Regions from separate parts of the Homo sapiens genome. Here region 2 is linked to region 1. The links are contacts of gene promoters, found by promoter capture Hi-C in blood cells and fetal thymus (Javierre and others, 2016). All regions are on one chromosome and are shown on one strand. Each heading gives the region's core, a stretch centred on a gene start or on the middle of the fragment in contact. The rest is flanking DNA. Distances are from core to core; before and after follow the strand shown.

Evidence for each region. Contacts are between HindIII fragments. The CHiCAGO score rates a contact against its expected background, and 5 or more counts as called.
Region 2: a fragment that was not itself captured here is called in contact with the fragment with the promoter of TMSB4X in region 1 in 1 of 17 cell types (monocytes); the score reaches 5.5 in monocytes.

The regions. Positions count from the first base shown.
Region 1 is chrX:12,970,322-12,976,523 of GRCh38, forward strand. It overlaps TMSB4X (thymosin beta 4 X-linked), which reads left to right and starts at 4,789. Exons shown (of 3, transcript NM_021109.4): 1 at 4,789-4,847; 2 at 5,925-6,040. The coding sequence starts at 5,941. RefSeq lists enhancers at 3,226-3,295, 3,306-3,565, 3,586-3,705, 3,829-4,668, 5,508-6,202. The HindIII fragment of the contact is 8,223 bases long and covers 291-6,202 here.
Region 2 is chrX:14,015,805-14,022,577 of GRCh38, forward strand. It overlaps GEMIN8 (gem nuclear organelle associated protein 8), which reads right to left. Exons shown (of 5, transcript NM_001042479.2): 3 at 5,660-5,707; 4 at 4,274-4,730. The coding sequence starts at 5,674. Among named protein-coding and RNA genes, the nearest start is that of GEMIN8, 11 kb to the right of the region's middle. The HindIII fragment of the contact is 1,695 bases long and covers 491-2,185 here.

The DNA of each region.
Region 1 (6,202 bases), core at 3,539-6,038:
TCTACATGATGAAAAAGCTAGACAGCTGATTGAGACAGAATATAACTTTACCCTTATCTGGCGTATGGAACAAAGCCTTTAAAAGGCCTTAGGATTCTAGAGAAGAGTAGTGTTTAAATGAGGCGGCTTCTGAGCCAGCCAGTCTGAGTTCAAATCCTGCCTTTGGCTTTCGTTGTGTTTTCTTGGGGAAGTTATTTAATCCCTCTAGAATTCTCTCATCTGCAAAATGAGGAGAATAATGGTGCCACTGTCATAGGATTGTGTGAGGATTCGGGAAATACTACATGGAAAGCTTCCCAGTATATGGAAAGCACTCAGAAAGCACTTGCTGTTATTACTGCTATGGGTACAGCCATGATTGTTACTATCATTATTCTACAACCTGGCCCCTGCCTGGTTCCCAGCGTTATTTCCTGTCACTTTCTCTCATTTTACGCAAGTGCCTGCCAAGCTAAGCTACTCATTGCCCCCTGCGTTAACTCGAAGATTCTCTGCTTCCGTATTGTTCCCTGGCTGTGTGGAGGCTGAGTAACCACTTGGAGGGGATGTTGTAGAGGAAAATTCAAGCCACAGAAGGGAAACTGGGTTGAATGAGATCCCCTTTTACATTTCTTTTGGCTCTAAAGTTTCCATCGGATCAATAAAGCAAACAGGACAATTAGCAGCACGGCACTCAGCACTGAGCACAGGCGAGGGTGTTCTTTCACTCCTCTTTGCTTTCCTGCCACCCCCTGCTCGCCTTCCTCTTTGCACCATGTGGGTCCGCTCTGGGTGGGAGTCCTGGAGAAAGATACTTCAACTAAAGATAAGGCAGAGATAGGCCTCGGTGGAAAGACTTGGTAGACAGACCTGGGCATTTGATTAAGAGCAAATTGCTTAAATTCTCGGAGCCTCAATTTCTTTAGTAGTAAAATGGGGATATTAGTACTCACTCCATAGGGTAAGAATGGAATCAGATATTGTTTAAAAGGGCTTATAGCTGAGGTTACAAGATATAGCTAGTCTACTAAATATCCTTTCTCTTTTCATTTTCCTGTTATTCACAGGGGGGACTTAGGCTGTGTCTTTAAGGGGTTTTAGATTCCAATCAGTGGAAGGAGGGCTCTGCTGTGAGGGAGACCAGATGGAGACTGCAGGGGCCACAGGGGAACGTGGGGTGCAGGCAGGTGGGGCAGATGGTAGGAGGCCCTGAAACTCAGACAAAGGGATCTGGGCTTGAGAAAGCAAGAGCTGGGAGCTCAGCTTTGTTCCTGTTCTTCCGTTCCTCCCTCCTCTTCCTTCTTCTCTTCTTCTGGTAAGTTTTTGGCACAAAATTAAATAGGTTCAAACTAATAGAACTCATTTTCATGAATTCAGACTTCTAGCCAACTTCTCCATGGTTAGAAATAGCCACGACTCTATCCCAGGCCCGCCCTGGAAAGCAAAATAAAACTGCGTCCCCTGCCACCTTTTCCGGGTTCCACCAGACACAGGGTTGGAGGGGAACCGCCCTTCAACGCAGGCAATGTTGGCACATTTTTCATTGGGCGCTGTGGCCCGTGAGATGAGGAAGGCAGGACAGGCGCAAAGTGGACTCTACTTATCTTTCACCAGAGAGCCCCAAGGCCAGAGTGCACCATACAACCCGGAGTCACCCAAGGCCTTTTTTTTTGGGGGGGGGTCTCACTGGGAACAATGTCTGCACCCATTGTAAGCAGTTCCTTTGCCCCTGTGTGCCTCTGTCTTTTTAATTGGGATCGAAAACTGCTACCTCAATGGTAGTTGTGCCCGGCACATACTAACAGACTTATAAATGTAGCTGCCTGGGGCAGGGATGATCCTGGAACATTCTGACATCTAGAACATTAAGACTAAATGGATTTAATTATCTGGGGAGAAGAAAGCAAGACAATTAGAGTCACAGGTTCAACACCTGAGTTCAAGTACCTCCCTCATTTAAGAAAATCAATTCATGGAAGGCTGAGGCAGAGAATGGCTTGAATCCGGGAGGTGGAGGTTGCAGTGAGCCGAGATCACATCACTGCACTCCAGCCTGGGTGACAGAGCGAGACTGTCTCAAAAAAAGAAAAGAAAAGAAAATCAATTCAATGCAGTGGGAGAACTGTTATTGAGCAATTACTATCCACCAGACGCTGTGGAAAGCACAACTGCCTAGCTCCTCACACTCTTCCTGGTGATTCTCGGGTACAGACTAAGAGGATGTGGGGAGGACTTTTACATGCTCTTGGCATATATAACAGAGTGGCTACCAGCTGAGGTAACCCAATGATGGCTCTCTAAGCCTCAGTTTCCCCATCTGGAAATTTCTTATGGAAAGGCGGTGGGAAAGAAAGGAAAAAACAAATGTAAAACTTACGTTACAATGCCTGACTCTTAGAAAATATCAACCGACAGGAGTTGTCATGTTTTATTTGCTGTAAAACTACCAAAAGATCTTCTATCAACATTTTGTAAGTGAAAATAATAATATATATTCATATGTATTAATTATATAGAAATAATATATAATAATATATAAATGTCTCTATAGGAGAAATAATATCAAGACACCTAAAATTTTTAATTAATTCTAAACACTAAGACAATTATTTTATTATTTTTCCTCAACCTTCCATCCTAAATCATACGAATAATAACAATAGAAAGAGCTTACTAATTGTCATGCACTGTCCGAAGCATTTACTCCTCCCAACAACCCTGTGAGGTCGGTGTTGCAATGAACCCATTTTACAGATGAGAAAACTCCAGCACAGAAAGATTCATTCACATGGCCAGAGTCATGCAACTTTTAAGAATATTCCTTTGGTTTGCATTTCCTTGTATCTGCACCACCCTTCCCTTTCCTGTCTCTCTAGGTCTCCTGACCGGTTGGCAGGTCAGTCCCAATCATGGGAACTCTTTTCCTTTAAGCAGTCGTCTCTCTTTCTCTTCCTCTCTGTTTCCACCTGCCCTCCATCAGTGTCTCAGCACAGTGGAAGGCTGCTTGCTACCGCACTGGAAAACTTCTCCAGACATTTCCAAGTTTGCATTCGTCCATCTCCTTTGGAGAATTGCTTCAGTGAGGCCTAACCCTTTCTGAGGAAAGGCCCTTGGGAGAAGAAGCCAGGAGAAGGTAGTGGCACTCCTTTGTCATCAGGAGACATTGGGAGGAAAGAAATGATTTTCGACAGCAGCTGGGTGAGGGGAAACAGAATCACAGAACCTGCGGAAACGGTGTCGGTACAACGGCAGCTGCCAGCTAAACGGGCGAAAAGGCACCCTGCAAGATCTTTTCTGTGTTTCAACGATGAAGTAGACTCCCAACATGGAACAGGGGCGGGGGGGCTGTTACCAGACAGGTGACATTTGGTGCATGCACGAACAGGTCCAGTGCCCCATTCGGAGGCCAGGAAGGCAGCCACCCAGCAGAGCATTAACTAGGGGACCAGACGGTCACCTGCCCCTGCTCACCCCCACCTCCTTCCTCCCCAGGAAAAAGGAAGTCAAGTAGATGGAGAAACGGGGAAGTCCAAGCTGCTGGCAGTGGCATTCAAGGGTCTATATATAAGGTTGACTCTAATCCCCAGCGAGACAAAAGCCTGTGCCATAAAAATGATTAGCAAGGGGTTTCTAAAAACATTTCCCCAGGCCACGGAAAAGGAGAAGGAATATTTTGCACACTGCCTTGTCTCTTAGAAATAATCACAGCTAGGCCTCTTTATAACCGGCGAGTCTTTTTCCTTTCACACGCCATTTGCAGGCGCGTGGCATGGTATTTGTAACTAATTTTCAGTAGCAAGTGGGTCACTGGTATTCACAGAGTCAGGTGCCATTTTGAAAACTGCTTCCCTCTACCCGAATCTCTTATATTTCCAGATGCAGATGCACTTCAGCGATGTCCTAGTGCTGGAAACGCTCCCTTGAAAATATAATTTGATTTTTGAATTTCATCTTAAGACATTAGAGATAATGTAACTGTAGTCTTTGGAATTCAACGCTGGCCTCCTTAGCCATCACTTTTAAAATTTATGAAAATAAGGAAGAGGAAGGTAAAGAACTTCCTCATTGTCCGGCAGTAAAGTCAATGGCAGAGCTTGAGCTTGACTTATTTTGCTAAGAGGGAGGTGTTTTACCCTATAAACTCCAAATTACCTTACACCCAGCAAATACTACTGTTGAGTGCTCACAAAAATTATGCTGATGAAACAATATGGATGTTTCAGTGATGAAACTTTCTCTTTTAAAATCACTTAAGGGTGCTTTACGTCCCACCCAAGGCAAGAGGAACGCCAGCGAGGAAGACAAAGAGGCCCGGGGTGGGGCGCATGCCCGCCACTGGACTGAAAGCTGAGTCACAGGAATCGTACCCCTGCAGCGGGCCAGGCCCTCCAGGGAGGGACACCGCGCCCTTGTGTGGAGATGTCCACAGTAGACAAAGGCAGTTTCGAAATAAAAGAATGCCTGTCACCCCAGGTGCCACCCCGACCCTTAGTTATTATGCACTGGTCCCCAAGAGCAATTTCTGCGCTGCTGTTGCAAAAATTCATCGTAATGAAATAAACGTAAAAGGGGAAAATGTGTTATGAAGTGTTGGAGGGTGCTTTGCTCATTTTTTTCGCCATCGTTGTGGTTAGGGTGCATGCACTAGTGGACCCCGGGTGGGGGTGGGGCTCCCCTCCCCAAAAGCCCGGCAGGCCTCCGGATGCCGTTCCGAGACGCGGCGCGAAGGAGTTAAGCGGGCCGGCGGGTGACATCACCTCATTTACATAGGAGCGCCCATAAAGCTGCGCCCGCCGCACCCCGCCCGACAACTCGGTGGTGGCCACTGCGCAGACCAGACTTCGCTCGTACTCGTGCGCCTCGCTTCGGTGAGCCCCAGGGCCCCTGCCTCCTTCCTCCTGCCGTCCTGCCTCCGTCCCCGCCCTTTCATCATCCGCGTCCCTGTGAAGGCATTCCCTAAATCCGAGCCCGAGTGGTTCTCCCCGGGAAGGCTACTTTGGGGAGCTGGGGGGATGCGAAACACCCTAGATACTGGATAATGGGGTGGGGAAATCGATGATTTAAGAACAAAACCGAAAAACTGGCGTTTTGCCGTGCCGCTCGGAGGGGACATTAAAAAATTTCTTAGTGTTTGCCCGCAAAGGTATTGTGCGTTGCCTTGGAGGCTGAGATATGGGGGAATAGACAAGTCCTTTGTTCTGAGGTTCATCTTCCGAGCCCCGAGCCTCCTCCCAGCCTCGGACGGCTGCGCGGGCTGCATCTGTGCAGCCTGGCGGCGGCGGGGCTGTGCTATGACATCTTTACAGTCCTTCTTGCAGAGACATGTGTGCCAGGGATGCCGAATTGCCGGGAGAGCAGGCAAGACCGGCTTCGGGGCGCGCGGCGGCCGCTTTGTGTGCGGGGCTGCATTGTGACGCGGGCGATGAAGCCGGTAGGGCGGTGGTCGGAAGCTCCAGCCGCGGCCGCCGCCTTTGTGAGAGGACTAGAAAGCCGGATCCGGCCCGCATCCTTGCGGAGAGGCCGCGGCTAGGAAATGGAAACGCTTTTCCTACCTGGGCTCCATTTTAGGAATTCTTGCCGATTTTTCCCACTTGAATTTGGAAGTGGCTTTCCTCTTCTTTCCTTGTCCTAGCCAGCCTTTAATTTTAAACGCTGTAATTAACAATTCGCAGTGGTCAATTTCCTTTATTCTGCAAGATTCGGCTTTGAGAGGCATCCGCCCTCTTTGGTCCACAGCGTTTTGAAATATGGGGAGGAGGGGCGCGGGGGGTGTCGCCTCTTTTTCTGTAGAAAGAGGAAGCTCGTGAGCGCGGAACGGCAGCAGTAGGAGAGCGAGAAGGGTTTTTTTCAGGCTGCGGGTCGGAGGGCAGAAGTGCAGTTCCCAGCCCAGAGACAGCGGGGCGGGTGGCTCTTCCTCACGCTCGCTCTTGGCTTGCTCCCTGCAGCTTTTCCTCCGCAACCATGTCTGACAAACCCGATATGGCTGAGATCGAGAAATTCGATAAGTCGAAACTGAAGAAGACAGAGACGCAAGAGAAAAATCCACTGCCTTCCAAAGAAAGTGAGCTCCGACCCACCCCCATCTTTAGAAAGGCTGGGTGGGAGCGGCCGGTGGGAGGGCGGGAGGCTGGGAGCGGCCGCGGGAAGAATTCGGGAGGGGGGAGTGCGGGGGAAGAGCCGACAGTTGATGAATGTGGCTTGCAAAGGTTAATTAAAAATGGTT
Region 2 (6,773 bases), core at 88-2,587, 1.0 Mb after region 1:
AAAATGAAACAAAAAACTTGAACCAATTATTCATACTACCCAGGTCCCTTATCTCTTTATTAAAGCTTTTTCCAACAGTGTATGTAACTAACCCTCCATGAAAATTTCTGGTGAAGGTAATGAATTGGAAAGCGCCATGGGCACTCAGATTACTTACATATGAATTCCATCATTCATTACCGCTTGAAGAACAGTTGTTCATCCTGTACTCACCAAAAGTGCTGCTGAAAAAAATAATGCTAGTGATCTATTGCCCATTATTTTCTTACTGGTGCAAGATCGGGCCCTGGCAGCTGCTTCTAATATAGACGAAGTCTTTAGATTCCAGTCTGACACCACAGTCTGTTCTCACCCTCACCAGACAATTCTCACATCTCCCTGGGACCAGCTAATGCATTCAGGGAAGGCTGTAGGAGCATGACACAGACGCTAAGAAAAGTAGTTTTGAATCATGCTGTAACTACACATTTTAAAAATACAAAGAATTGAAAGCTTGTTTAGGGACATTATTAGTAATATTGAAGTGGGTTAATTTTCCCAGTCCATGTACTTTACTGCATTAAATTTTATCAAGCAAGAATATCCTTGAAACAGAACTAAAAACTGTGTTAATTGCTAAATTTGATAGACACCAAAACTTTCATTCTTTCATGTCTTTAATATTCTAAATCAGTTTAAAAGTTTGAAAGGTGCCACCCAGAGCAGAAATATGACCTTTCTGAAGTCACAGAACATCTTATTAAAAATATGCAGAATCTTAGCTGGGCGCGGTAGCTCATGCCTATAATCCAGCACTTTGGGAGGCCGAGGCAGGTGGATCACCTGAGGTCAGGAGTTCAAGACCACTCTGGACAACATGGTGAAACACCATCTCTACTACTAATAAAAAAATTAGCTGGGTGTGGTGGTTGGCGCCTGAAATCCCAGCTACTTGGGAGGCCGAGGCAGGAGAATCACTTGAACCCGGGAGGCATAGGTTGTAGTGAGCTGAGATGGCGCCACTGTACTCTAGCCTGGGTGACAGAGTAAGAATCTGTCTCAAAAAAAAAAAAAAAAAAAAAAATATATATATATATATATATATATATGTACAGAATCTCAATCAAGCACTAATCAAGGCAAACGGTATCAGAGAAAAACCAATTTATGGTTAATAATCCATGTTAAAGGATGGGTTACTAGCAACTAACTGTAACAATAACATTTATTGGGCACCAACTTGGTACCAAGCACCATTCTATAACTTTTCTCATATTATCTCATGGATTCTTCACAATTACTACCCATTAGGGATTCTTCATAATTACTACCCACTAATTAGGATCCTATTTCATAGGTGAGGCAACTGAGGCAAAGAATGGTGAAGGCAGGGGGCTTACAGGAGGACGAGAACCTCTAATCAGCGAGTGGTAGAGTGAGGCTGGACCTCTGTGATTCAAGCAGTTCTGCCACAGCTGCCTCCATACACTGTTGCCAGCAATAATATGAATACTGGAAAATGAGGTTCAAGATGGAAGTTGCAAGGGTTTTCATAAAATTCCCTTTTATGATGGTTTGCTATCTAGATCACAGTAAAACAAATAAGTAATACAGTTTTTTCAGACAGATGACAAGAACTGTGGGTTTACTTTATGTCCCAGTCACAGATTGCATTTGGGGACAAAGAAAATTCTCCCAGGGTGATTGTACTCCTTTCCTAGGGCTGCCATAACAAAGTACCATATACTGGGTGGTTTAAAACAACAGAAATGTATTGTCTCATGGCTCTGGAGGTCAGAAGTCTGCAATCGAGGTGTTGGCAGGGCCATAAACCCTCTAAAGGTGCTAGGGAAGGATCTGTTCCAGGCCTCTCCCACCTTCTGGATGTTCCTTGGATTGTGGCGACATAATGTCAATCTTCACATGGTGTTTTCACTGCATGTGTGTCTGTCTCTGTGTCCGGATTTTGCCCTTTTTATAAGGACCTGAGTCACATAGGATTAGGATCCCTGTAATGACCTCACTTAACCTCAATTACCTCTGGAAAGACCCTGTCTTTAAATAAGGTCACATTCTGAGGAACTGGGGGTTAGGATTCCACTGTATCTTTCTTGGGGAGATACAATTCAACCCAGATGATGAAAGTGCAATTTGGAGCCGTAAAGTAACTAGACAGATTTGGAAATAATATGAAACACAGAGATGAAGCTTATCAAGTTTATAATGCACACAAGGCCTAGCTCATTCTGTAAAATGTCCCACAGAATCACTGCAAGTGTAGCACTCTATGGGTAAGATTTGCCAACCTCTGATTTAAGGCTTCTAATTCACACTGAAAGACTTCATTTATTCACTCAAAATAATATTAAGTGGCAAGTATGACTTAGCAGGTAATTTTCATGATTTTGTTTACCTACCTAGAGTTCTACCTAACAATGGCAAGAGGGAGGAATAGGGATGGTTGTTAACAATATCTGTAACTGAACCGTTCACATTTTTTCTTTGGTGCAAGGACACATTTCATTGTTTTATCTTTATTTTATTCATATCCACTTTTTATTGACTAACTCAAGTTTATTTTAAACCAGCAGATAATTCAAAGTCACCTTTGAGATGACTGGGATTTGCTTCCATCCATAATTACAATTTCCATCATAAAAGTATCAACCTCTAGTGGGCAAAACATGTTATTCTACTTTCTGGTAAGGACAAGAGTAATAAACTCGATCTCCATCCCATTTTCTCTGTCAAAAGCTGTAACAAACAGCATTCCAACCCAAACATGGACATGCTCCAATGCTTCTCATTTGTTGTATATATTAGACTAATGGTTGTTTCGTATCTATATTTTTAAAAAGGGTAAAATTTATTTCTGGAGATCAAGCAAAAGTATTCTGTGTGTAATAGAAAGTACTGTCTTAAAAGTATTTGTTTGGATATACTTCTTTCTTTCTTTTCTTTTTCTTTTCTTTCTTTTCTTTTCTTTTTTTTTTTTTTTTTGAGCCAGGGTCTCGCTCTGTCACCCAGGCTGGAGTACAGTGGTGTGATCGTGGCTCACTGCAGCCTCAAACTCCTGGGCTCAAGCCATCCTCCCGAGTTGCTGGGACTACAGGTGTGAGCCACCACACCTGGCTGGATATACTTTCTAATATGCTTAAAGAAGTACACAGTTTAAACAAAAGAAAGGAAGTCAAAAAAATCTGAACAAGTAGTTTAGTGAAGAATCACGGACGAAGATACTAAAGGATATAATATTTTATACAAAGCCCAGTGCTCAGTTCTTGGCATCCAGTGGGGATCAATAAAAGCTAATTCATCATTAGGAAAATGCTGACAATGACAGACAGGAATGAAACTCCCATTCCCAGGTTTCTACGCTTCTGTGTCATTGGAAAATTGTAGGTAAAATGTCATACAATTAGGCCTCACTTAAAACAAAATTGAGAATGAATACTGGTTATAATAGGGAAAGAAGCATTTGTATCTCAGTTAGAGGTACTTAGAAATGGTCTGGTGAATTTTAATAGGAGAGCACAAAAGCTGTTCTAGTTCTTTCTAGTAAGGTGGTAAGAAATTTAAAAAGAAAATTCCTGTTTTTGACTGAAGATATAAGACCTTTATCATAATTCTCTGACCCCATGGACAGGGCCTCAATGCAGAACCAACAGGAAAGTTGTAAGTGCCAGGCATTTCGTTACTCTGTTTAGGTTCATGCTATTTAAGATTTGGGACCTCTAGCACCAAGGACATCTCCAAGATGTGTCCCAGAGGAATGGCAAAAGTATTTTAGGAACCTAGCAGTCTCAGGGACAAGTCCTAGTATACAGAAAGCAGTACAGGAAGTAGAGGTAGGCAGATTTGGTTTGGATCCTAACAGCAAATTACTAGTTGTGTACCACGGAACAAGTCAATTAACCTTTTTAAGGTTCACTTTCCTCATATATAAAATGAGTTTAATACTCTGAGGGACTGCTGTGTAGATCAGAGCACGCACACACACAAGCATGCATGCATACACACTCCATTTGGTAGAGTGTCTAATGGTTAATAAATAGTAGAACTACTATTAGGATAAGCTTTGTTCTGGAACAAAAAAATGTCTTATACTAAAACAACTCCAGAAACTAACATAAGCAAGGTACAGCATCCCCATAGCTTTTCCAGGCTTAGGACTGGATTTGGAATATTACCCTAGCCAATGAAGAATTATAAAATTACTTTATATATTAGAGAAAAAAAATGTAAAAGGCAGGGCAAGGAAAGGAAGCATGAAGAGACAGAGGCCTGAACTTACGTCGTTCTTCTCTATGCCTCTCGGTCTCTGCAAAGTACTGGCGGAGCTCTTCAGTGATTTCCATATTGCTCAGGTCACATTCTACCTCTGCATCTGACTCAGTCTCCATCTCTTCCTCTTTGGACAAAGCTTGGTCTTCTTTTGTGGATGCCTGGATCCTACTGCTGTAACGTGGATGCTGCCCAGATCTTCTGAAATGTGAAGAACTGCAGGGGTAGTCCTGCCAGGCCACATGATGGTCATAGAAGGACTGAGGATACGCAGCCTCATTATCGTAAGAGCTTTGGGGAAGAAGCGCAGAAGGTAAGTACCATGGAAGATTGAAACAGGATTCCACGGCCTTCCTGTAGGCATTGTGATGGCTTTGCATCCAAGCCATTGCTTGATGATAATGTTGCCAGTATCTTGCATATACCGGATGAGAATACCAAGGCCTGGTAGCTTTCGATGTTGATGCCTACAAAATGAAAGGAGGTGGAGGGTGGACACCAAAGTGTTTATTATCCTCAAGAGAAATCTTCAAATGTTTAATCTGCTACCCAACAGGTATTTACTTAGTATTTGCTAAATACCTACCTACATGAGGAGGCTACTGGGCCCAAAATATTGTGTGAGATAGGTCCAGGCCCACAGTGGACACCAAGTGTATGCACACTTGCTAAGTCCATGTACATAAGGTATGCACAAGCCAGCCAATTAAAGCTATGGAGCATTATAATGTGGGGATGAAGGCTAGTGATCGTTTCTAGATGAGACGCAGGGAGAGAGAAGACTGGATGTTTATCACCTTAGCCCTCTCTACCCACTGTAATTAAATGACTACTGCCAACTGAGCAACGGCCTGCTAAGAACCACACTAGACTGACAAGCATGACAGACTTTAGTTTTTCCCTTTCTGCCCCCTAAACTAACTTGCTGGCCTGAGCCACCCCTAAATGCCTGGGGTAAGAGATGTCTAGGAATGCACCCAATAGTGCTTTTACTTTTGTATTTCTTAGGTCTTCTCCATCGTGCAATGAGAATACCAAACTTTAAAGACTAAAATTTACCAGCAAACTATCGCAAGGACAAAAAACCAAACTCCGCATGTTCTCACTCACAGGTGGGAATTGAACAATGAGAACACATGGACACAGGAAGGGGAACATCACACACCAGGGACTGTTGTGGGGTGGGGGGAGGGGGGAGGGATAGCATTAGGAGATATACCTAATGTTAAATGACGAGTTAATGGGTGCAGCACACCAACATGGCACATGTATACATATGTAACTAACCTGCCCGTTGTGCGCATGTACCCTAAAACTTAAAGTATAAAAAAAAAGACTAAAGTTTACCTTTTTTACTTACGAGCTCAAAAAAAAAATAAAAAAATAAAAATCTTACCTTTACCGCTGCCATCTCTGATTGTGAAAGTCCAAATGGGTGCTGAAACTAGGAAAGAAGAATCACAGTGCAAACGTCTGATCAGTATGGCTGTGTGATATTTGTGGCTATTCTATGGTTTGTGAGGCAGCTCCCAAGGAACTGCCTCTTCCCAGGACCATGCCTGATTTCATGCAACCTATCTATATGACGTTGGTTCCTGGGCTATAACTTTGTGGTCTGAAAAGGAGGGATCCACTTAGGTTTGATTAAGTGGGTCAAAAGATCCTGCATGGTTCAATTACTTATTTCCCTATAGGAAGTAAAGTCTATGAAAATGACCATATAAATATTTAGTAGTTAATGTGTGTGTATATATATATATATATATATATATATATAGTATATATATACTGATATATATACTGAGGCTGGAGAGATGTCTTATTCTCCAAGTCCCAGATAATGTATATGTATAATGTATAATGTATACACACATATATATGTATATGTATGTATACACATATATATGTGTGTATATATAATGTATATATACACATATATGTATGTATACACATGTATATATACACATGTATATATAATGTGTATATATATGTGTGTGTGTGTATATATATATACACACACACACAATATACAAAACATGAACTAAAAATTTATAGTTATTACTTTATTTACTAATCCTTAACTCATGCTAATGCTTACTTAAATTAACCCTGGGTCTTCCTGAGGCTTGAGGGGAACACATCTTTCCAAATGACCAGAAACCTCTGTTGGGTCTTGCCTTAGGTTTGGGACTTGGAGAATAAGACATCTCTCCAGCCTCAGTTGTGCCCTGGGCTTTAAGTTCCCCAAATGGGCTTTGTTTTCATTTTGATTGCAATATGCATTTCTCAGCCAGCATGTGACATCACACTCTCCTTGCCTAACCACCCTGTCTCTTCACAGGAGAAAAAAACACTCCATGGAGTCTCTACTGAGGCACCAGATAGACTGCCTCTGGCAAATAGCATTGCTCTGCTGAGATTTACTCCTTTTCTCTCTACCCACCTGTTGTGATTTGCTGATTCGATGCATGAAATACCCAAAAGTAATGGCTAATCTGCAGCTGTAGCTT